Regions from separate parts of the Homo sapiens genome. Here regions 1 and 2 are each linked to region 3. The links are contacts of gene promoters, found by promoter capture Hi-C in blood cells and fetal thymus (Javierre and others, 2016). All regions are on one chromosome and are shown on one strand. Each heading gives the region's core, a stretch centred on a gene start or on the middle of the fragment in contact. The rest is flanking DNA. Distances are from core to core; before and after follow the strand shown.

Evidence for each region. Contacts are between HindIII fragments. The CHiCAGO score rates a contact against its expected background, and 5 or more counts as called.
Region 1: a contact is called between a fragment that was not itself captured here and the fragment with the promoter of PMP22 in region 3, in 11 of 17 cell types (endothelial precursors, erythroblasts, M2 macrophages and 8 more). The highest score is 13.3, in endothelial precursors.
Region 2: a fragment that was not itself captured here is called in contact with the fragment with the promoter of PMP22 in region 3 in 1 of 17 cell types (endothelial precursors); the score reaches 8.5 in endothelial precursors.

Annotation. Positions count from the first base shown.
Region 1 is chr17:15,478,243-15,480,942 of GRCh38, reverse strand. All of the region lies in intron 4 of TVP23C-CDRT4 (TVP23C-CDRT4 readthrough), which reads left to right. Among named protein-coding and RNA genes, the nearest start is that of CDRT3, 8.8 kb to the right of the region's middle. The HindIII fragment of the contact is 1,557 bases long and covers 628-2,184 here.
Region 2 is chr17:15,448,770-15,451,469 of GRCh38, reverse strand. All of the region lies in intron 4 of TVP23C-CDRT4 (TVP23C-CDRT4 readthrough), which reads left to right. The region is part of intron 2 of CDRT4 (CMT1A duplicated region transcript 4); the gene reads left to right. Among named protein-coding and RNA genes, the nearest start is that of CDRT4, 18 kb to the left of the region's middle. RefSeq lists enhancers at 2,148-2,647, 2,648-2,700. The HindIII fragment of the contact is 2,897 bases long and covers 1-2,700 here.
Region 3 is chr17:15,264,030-15,266,729 of GRCh38, reverse strand. It overlaps PMP22 (peripheral myelin protein 22), which reads left to right and starts at 1,404. Exons shown (of 5, transcript NM_000304.4): 1 at 1,404-1,576. LOC124903931 (a long non-coding RNA gene) reads right to left here. Exons shown (of 2, transcript XR_007065632.1): 2 at 821-1,274. The HindIII fragment of the contact is 20,659 bases long and covers 1-2,700 here.

The sequences.
Region 1 (2,700 bases), core at 157-2,656, 210 kb before region 3:
TCGAACTCCTGACCTCAGGTGATCCTCCCACCTCGGCCGCTGAAAGTGCTAGGATTACAGGCGTGAGCCACCCTGCCCGGCCAACTTTTCCTCTTTTGAGGGGGCATCAGGTCTTTCATCTATAAAATGGGAGAAGTAAGAATATGGATCTCATAGAGGTGCTGCTAGTTCCTGAGTTAGGATTTGTAAAAGTTTAGAAATGGGCCTGACACATATACATTTGTAATAAGTGTTAGCTTGTGTTATAAATGCCTCATCTGGAAACAAGATAGCTAATAACCCCAAAAGTGGTTTTCAGCTGGCGAGGGAGAGTAGTAGGGGGTCATCTTGGAATCATGATATTTAATGATTATGATTATTTTACTTATTTGGAATTTCAAATAAGATAAAAGGAAGGAACGAGATTTTCTTTTTTTCAAAAGATGGATTGCGTTATAAAAAAGGTTGCAAAAGCCTGTCCTACTAGACAATGCACTTGGGCGTGCCTACACCTCTGTGCATTATTAATTCTAGCTTCATTTCGTAGGGAGTATATGCTGTGTCAAGTGTTTTTGGCATGCAAACGGGACTATTCTCCTTGGCAAGCTAGGCTCATCCACTTACAAAGGAGAAGCTAAGAGTAAAGCTTTTGCATGGCCCTTGGACAGTTTATGAACCTCTCCACAACTGTTATTTCTCTAGTTTAATACTAAAGGCATTCTTGCAAGGTGACTAGGGCAGACGTTATTATAATTTCCTTTCTATAATGAAGACATTGAGCTCTTAGGGAGGGAAAGGGAGCTTCCTAAGGGTCACACATTGTAAAAGGCAGAACCTACTTCCTACTGTGCCATAAACTGCTTGGAACTGGAATACTTACTGCCTGGGTCTCACAGGTGGTTAGTAGCCATGGGAGAAACATGCTAGGAAAAAATCACTGCAGAGTGGCTCAGGAGGCTGGGACCTGCCTTATGGGATAAGTATGGGCATATGGTGCCCTTTCATCTGGGCTGGAAAAGACAGGGAGAAGTATCAAGTTTCTCTTCCTGTAGGAAAACCACTGGCTTCTGGCATTGGTCCATCTTCAAGGAATTTTGCATTGAGGTAGCAACTGATCAGTGGTTATTTCCTGAACATTTTCTGTCTAGGACTTTGATGTATGCACAGGGGTTGTTGGAGATCAAGGGAGCCACAGGCCACTTCAGAGTTCCTGGAACTGTGAAAAGCAGAAACAAGAAAACAAAGTTCCAAGCTCACTGAGATATTCACAATGCTTACATTGAAAAATAATGCTTGTCAGTCTACTAAAAATGCAGTGTCATATTATCATATGATCTTAAGTTAATTGCAGGATTTCTAAAAATTAATAATTTAGTAGTGTATGGCAGGAGGCCTGCCAGCCCTGTGTGCCTTGGATGTGGGGCAACTAAAGCGCACTCCCCACTTTTAAGAAGCCATTGACCCAGTGGAGTAAACAAACATGAACAACCAACAATATCACAATGAAATAAGTGTGAGTGGTATGTCAGGAGAGCCCCAAAGAGGGAAGATCAGAAAAGGCCTGACAGAGGTGAAGCTGGGCTGGGAGGAAGGGAAGTGCCTCTTGATTGAGGCTCTGCTCTTTCTCCTCTTCCCTTCTTCCTGTGTCTCCTCACTTTCCTTCCACCAGATCCTTTCCACTTCCCCAGCCCCGCTATTGTCTGGTCTTAGAGGGCAGGAAAACGAGGTCTGCTGGTCTGCTTTCAGATTTTGTTTAACTATAGAAGTGCTTTGGTTTCTTTGTGGTTTCTTTGAGCTTTTCAGTGAGAAAGAAGAAGGCAGTGGGAATACATTGGAAATAAACTTATCAGTGCTTTGTAGCATCACCACTGTGGTGTGATTGCCCCTTGAGGCGTGTGAGAGGAAAGGTGGAGGAAGATGAGGCTGACAAGGTTAAGTGGGGCAGAGTGCTCTGGCACTACTGGGATTGTAGGGAGGGGAACCGAGGGACATCATGGCACAAATCTGGAACCCGAGCAAAGCGAGTTTTCTGAAAGATAACTCCAGCAGTGATGTGGAGAATTCTTTTAATGGCAAGAGACCAGATGCTGTGGTTACCTTGCAGAAGCAAGGTGGATCCCCACCCTAAATTTAGTTTGGATGTCAAGATTGACGCCATCACACATACCAAGAGAGCATGCACATGTTTATTACTTACATCAAGCTTGTCCAGCCCACAGCCTGCGGGTCGCATGTGGCCCAGGATGGCTTTAAGTACAGCCCAACACAAATTTATAAACTTTCTTACAACATTTTGAGATTTTTTTTTTTTGCTAGTTGTTTTTTTTTTAAGCTCATCAGCTATCGTTAGTGTTAGTGTATTTTATGTGTGGCCCAAGACAATTCTTCTTCCAGTGTTGCTCAGGGAAGCCAAAATATTGGACGCCCCTGACTTACATGATGAGGCTTTCTGGGGAAGAACAGGGAAGACATCCCAAGCTAGTTCAAAACAGCTTGGGAGAGCAAGAAAAAAGACTGGCTTGGGATTTGATTTTCATTTATTTTTATTTTTAGAGATGAGGTCTCACTATGTTGCCCAGGCTGGTCTTGAACTCCTGGGCTCAAGCAATCCTCCCACCTTGGTCTCCCAAAGTGCTGGGATTACAGACATGAGCCACCATGCCCGGCCAAGGCTTGGAATTTTTTTTTTTTTTTTTTGAGACGGAGTCTCGCTCTGTCGCC
Region 2 (2,700 bases), core at 40-2,539, 180 kb before region 3:
ATGTTAGGCAGGGGGATGATTTAATCTGATCATGTTTAAAAATAATCACTCTGGGTCCTCTTTGGAGAAGGAGTTGTAGGGTGTGTTAGTCCATTTTCATACTGCTATGAAGAAATACCCGAGACTGGGTAATTTATAAAGGAAAGAGGTTTAATGGATTCACAGTTCCACATGGCTGGGGAGGTCTCCACATTCATGGCGGAAGGTGAAGGAGAAGCAAAGCACGTCTTACATGGCAGCAGGCAAGACAGCATGTGCAGGGGAACTGCCCTTTATAAAACCATCAGATCTTGTAAGACTTATTCACTATCATAAGAACAGCACGGGAAAAACCCACCCCCATGATTCAGTTACCTCCCACCAGGTCCCTCCCACAACACGTGGGGATTATGGGAGCTACGATTCAAGTTGAGATTTGGGTGGGGACATAGCCAAATCATATCATAGGGGAACAAGAGTGGAAGCAGGGAGACCAGTAGCAGGTGTTCAGTAGTTCAGTTAGTAGATGTTGATGTCTTAGAGGAGGCTGGTGGTGTAGAGAAGTTAAATCATGCTGGGTTTGGGGAGGATAATGGGCTGGAGATATTGAATGAAGAAGAAAGAGATGTTAGATGTTTGAACTGGGCAATTCGATGAATGATGATGCCTCTTTCTGAGATGGAAGAGACCAGAGAGGAACATTTTATGGAGTAAGGTCAAGAGTTTGTTTGAACCATGAAAAGTTTGAGAGGTTATTAGATATACAAATAAAGATGTAGTATATTGGCAGTTGGATATATGTATTTGGACTTTGGGAAAGAAGTCAGTCTAGTTAGATGTGGCAAATTGATGAGATGTAGAGCCACAAAACTGATTGCCATCACTTTGGGGATGTGTGGAAATAAAAAAAAAAAAAGAAGGGAACTAGAAATCCTCAATGGAGACAGAAGGAGCTTGCTGAGTGATGGTGGGATTCCACTCCTGTGGCATCATGGAAACCAGGTGGGAGAACATTTCAAGAATGTGAGAGTGAGTGCTCAACTCTATCCATGACCATTGCATTTTGGAAGGTGGAGGGTGAGAGGCCTGAGCTGCAAGTGGAGAGGTGTTCTTTGACAGGAATACAGATGCCTCATTCATAGTAGTGGGAAGGAAGGCATAGTGCAGGGGAGCTTATGGTGGAGAGTTGGTACGAGTGATGGTGGGAGATGAGGGAGTTCTTGATGGATTCTTGGATTTTTCTCAAAGCCGGGCAAGACAAAGACAACCTACAATGGAAGGAGAAGGAGGTGAAGAGGAGGTTTGAAATAGTTGCTTGGTGGGAATATAAAATATTTAACTTCTATTGAAAAAAGTATGAAAATTTCTTAAAGAACTAAACATAGAACTACCATTGGACACAACAGTTCCACTACTGGGAATCTACCTGAAGGAATATAAATCATTTTATCAAAAAGACACCTGCACTCATATGTTTATCCCAGCACTATTCATAATAGCAGTCATGGAATCAACCTAAGTGTCCACCAATGGTTGACTGGATAAGAAAAATGTGGCATATATATGCCATGGAATACTATGCAGCCATGAGAAAGAATGAAAGACTGTCCTTTGCAGCAATATAGATGGAGCTGGAAGCCATTATTCTAAGTAAACTAACCCAGAAGCAGAAAATAAAATATCACATGTTCTCACTTATGACTGGGAGGTAAACGATGTGTACACATGGACATAAAGGTGAAGATAACAGACACTGTGGACTCCAAAAGGGAGGAGGATGAGAGGAGGGTGAGGGTGGAACAATTACCTGTTGGGTACAAAGTTCAATATTTTGGGTGATGGGTTCACCAGGATCCCAAGCCCACCATGACACGATATACCCACGTAACAAACAGGCACACGGACCCTTGAATCTAAAATAAATATAATATTAAAAAAAGAAAGAGTTGCTTGGGGAGTGGAAAAGTGAAAAGAGTAGGAAGGGAGAAGTGTTGGTTGGACTACCTCTGTTGATTGACTTGGAGATAGAGGAGCAAGTGTGTGGAATTATAAAGAAAAGGATTCTGCAGCTAGACTGCCTGAGGGCAAATCCTGTTTTTTGTCACCTAATTGTTGTGTGACCTTGGACAGGCTGCTTAATGTCCCTACAGGCTCCAGTTTACTTGCCTGTGAAATGGGGTTAATACAATAGTACCTAATGCATATGGGTTTTGTTAGGATTTAATTAGTCACTATAGGTAATACACTTAGCGTGTGCCCTGGTCACACCACACGGCATAGAAATGTTAGCTGTTACTCCACGTGGGACCAATCGGCACAGTGGCGTTTTCCTCTCACCAAGTTTAGTTGCTGAGATGACAGCACCCAAAAGAGCCCCACAGGTGGATTGAACTGGTATTAAGGCTTTGCCATGCAAATATGTGTGAAATAAGAGTGAGATGCTTGCAGCTTAGATTTTGGATGTAGCATCGTTATTGGGGATGATAAGAACAGTGGCCTGATCACAGAGGCACGGGTGGTGGAGACTGAGAGGAAGACCTGGTGATTGGAAATGAGCAGGTCAAGGACTGCTGGGCTGGAGGTCTGCACAGATCATTCAGGAGACAATGAAGAAGCCACGGTGATGACAGGGAACAGCGCAAAGGAGGACAGTGTGCCTGGGGCTCAAGTTGTCAGGGACTGAGGGGCAGAGGACAGCGCTCAGGAGCTGGCAGCAACCGG
Region 3 (2,700 bases), core at 155-2,654:
GCAGAACAGACTTATAACTTGCATAATACTGCAGCAGCCCACACTGTACCTCATCTCCATTTGGGTTCCACAACAGAAGGGAGCTGGAAGGAAATCAGCGACAATCTAACTCCACATGACAACCTGGCTGGACAACGAAACATCCAGCGGGGAGAAAGACACTGGAAATTACCCATACCTGAGCCCCATCCCAAAACACCTGAGTCAGCTTCTCTGACCATGGCCCAGGCTAGGTCATTTGCAAAGCTCTTGAGTGATTCTAAAGAACCACTGCTGTGAAAAATAAAAATGATTTCAGCAAAGAGAGAAAGGTGAAACTATTTTATTGGCACTGGCTGTGATGCTGGCTGTGAGCAGATGCTGGCTGTGGGCAGAACAGGGGAGAGGGCCATTGAGAGGCCCTTGTGACTGGAGAGTCCAATCAAACGTAAAGTGTGTGACAGGGAGGGACTCCTCCAAATTCTGCAGGTCTCTCCAGACTGGGGATCCCTAACACAAGAGGAAGTCTTATGCCCCAAGTGCCAGAATTCCAGGAAACTCATGCAATGAAACCAGTCCTCTTGTGTCAGAGTTTGCAGCTAGAAGCGGTTCAAGGGATGGAGGACTCTCTGGGAGCTGGAGTGGTACGCTGCAAAGAACCTAAATATGCCATAACTTCCTTTACTTCCCTCTCCAAGAATTTCCAATTGCTCTTCCAGCCTATTCTGCCTGACAGGTTAGAAAGTTTTCAATAGTTTTCAATAGAGGTTCGTTTACTTGCATTGAATTATCTCATGAAGGTCAGCTTGATTCGGGCACATTAAAGACAGAGTCGGAAGAACACATTTCCCTAAGTTTTATTCTAATGTACAACACATGTGATCATTTGCGATGGGGTCTAGGCAGACAAGGCAGGTAACAGGGAGTCCTTCCAACCAGGGGTTGGAACAAAGGAGGCTTGATTTGGTGACTCTTGAGACATTTGGCTCACTGCTGTGATGCTGTGAGAGATTAGCTGTGCAATGTTTGGGCTCCTTAAAAGGAAGTTTATTTAAAATAAAACTTACCTGCACGTATGTAACACTGTAGACACAGATCCTTCCCACAGTATATTTAATCTCTGCAGAATTCACTGGGAGGGGAGGGGAGCCAGTGGGACCTCTTGGCTATTACACAGGTTGGCACTTCCAGAGAGAACAGTCTTGGCATCACAGGCTTCAGGCATACTCAAAGCTCTTCTCCCTTCTGATTCCAGTTTCTCCATGCCCTGCAGGGCCTCTTGGGATTATTGTATTCTGGAAAGCAAACAAAGTTGGACACTGTCTCTTTAAATAATAGAGGCTGAGAACCTCTCAGGCCACCATGACATATCCCAGCATTGGACCAGCCCCTGAATAAACTGGAAAGACGCCTGGTCTGGCTTCAGTTACAGGGAGCACCACCAGGGAACATCTCGGGGAGCCTGGTTGGAAGCTGCAGGCTTAGTCTGTCGGCTGCGGGTCTCTGACTGCCCTGTGGGGAGGGTCTTGCCTTAACATCCCTTGCATTTGGCTGCAAAGAAATCTGCTTGGAAGAAGGGGTTACGCTGTTTGGCCGGGTGAGTTTTATTGGCAAACTGTGCCTCTGGGTGATGTGTGCCTATGCTTTACAAGAATTGCCTAATTTCCCACCCCCTGCAAGCCGCAAATGAAAAGGATTGCAGGAGAGATGGTGCATTTGTGTTGGAATTGACTGGAGATTCAGAGGGCTTTTTATATCCTTGGTTAAAAGGTGGATATATACTCTGGCTGGGGAGGTGGGGGGCCATCTGAGAGCATCTAGAAACCCTAATGCATCCAGATTGAAAGGAAGAAAGGAATCTAGATGCTTTTTCCCCCATGGAAAATAGCTGTGCACACACAGCTGGCAGGTGGCCTTGGTAAGCAGGTTAGGGAGAAGCTGCCACCTGTGGCAGAGCCTTGGCCAGCCGGGCTCTGGGTGTGGCAAGCCTGGTCAGCAGGCACTGAGTAGCACTTCCTCTGCCACCATTGAGAACCAGGCAGGAGGCCAGAGGCAGTGAGGGACAGATGGGTTGGGTTTACCTGTCTGGCAGTATATGGTGTGGCTGTGACCTGGGTGGTTATTGATTAAACTATTGGGTTCAAAAGAAAGGAAGAAGCGAGCTGTAGCACCCAATATATGCACTTTTCTGTATGTGTATTAGACTTTATTAAAAAGTTTATTTGAAAATCACAAAGGAAGGGAAAGAAAACCCTGAGTTAGATATGCTCATATTTCTAAAGTGCTTACTTAGAACAGTCCTGAGTATGTTGTGATCACATAAGTGTTGGTTAAATAAATAAATGTCCAAATGGCATAAAACAAAGTAATAATTTCTAGAGCAAATCTAACTTATAAAATGACCTGTGGAGGAAAGAAAACACTGCCATGTCTTTAGACTTTTTTTTCTACTTGCATATGCACTTTCATTTATAAATCTTTATCTATCTATCTATATCTATCTATCTATCTATCTATCTACCTACCTACCTACCTACCTATCAGAGTTACAAGCTACTTTAGTGCAGAGGTGGTCAGGTCTTCCCTGAAAGGTTGATGTGAGAGTTAAATGTGATATAATAATAGTGGTGGCAATTTGGGCACTGGGCCCTTATTATGTTGCAGACACGATGTTAACTGCTTTGTACATATTGTCTCCTTCAATCACCACCATAAACCTTT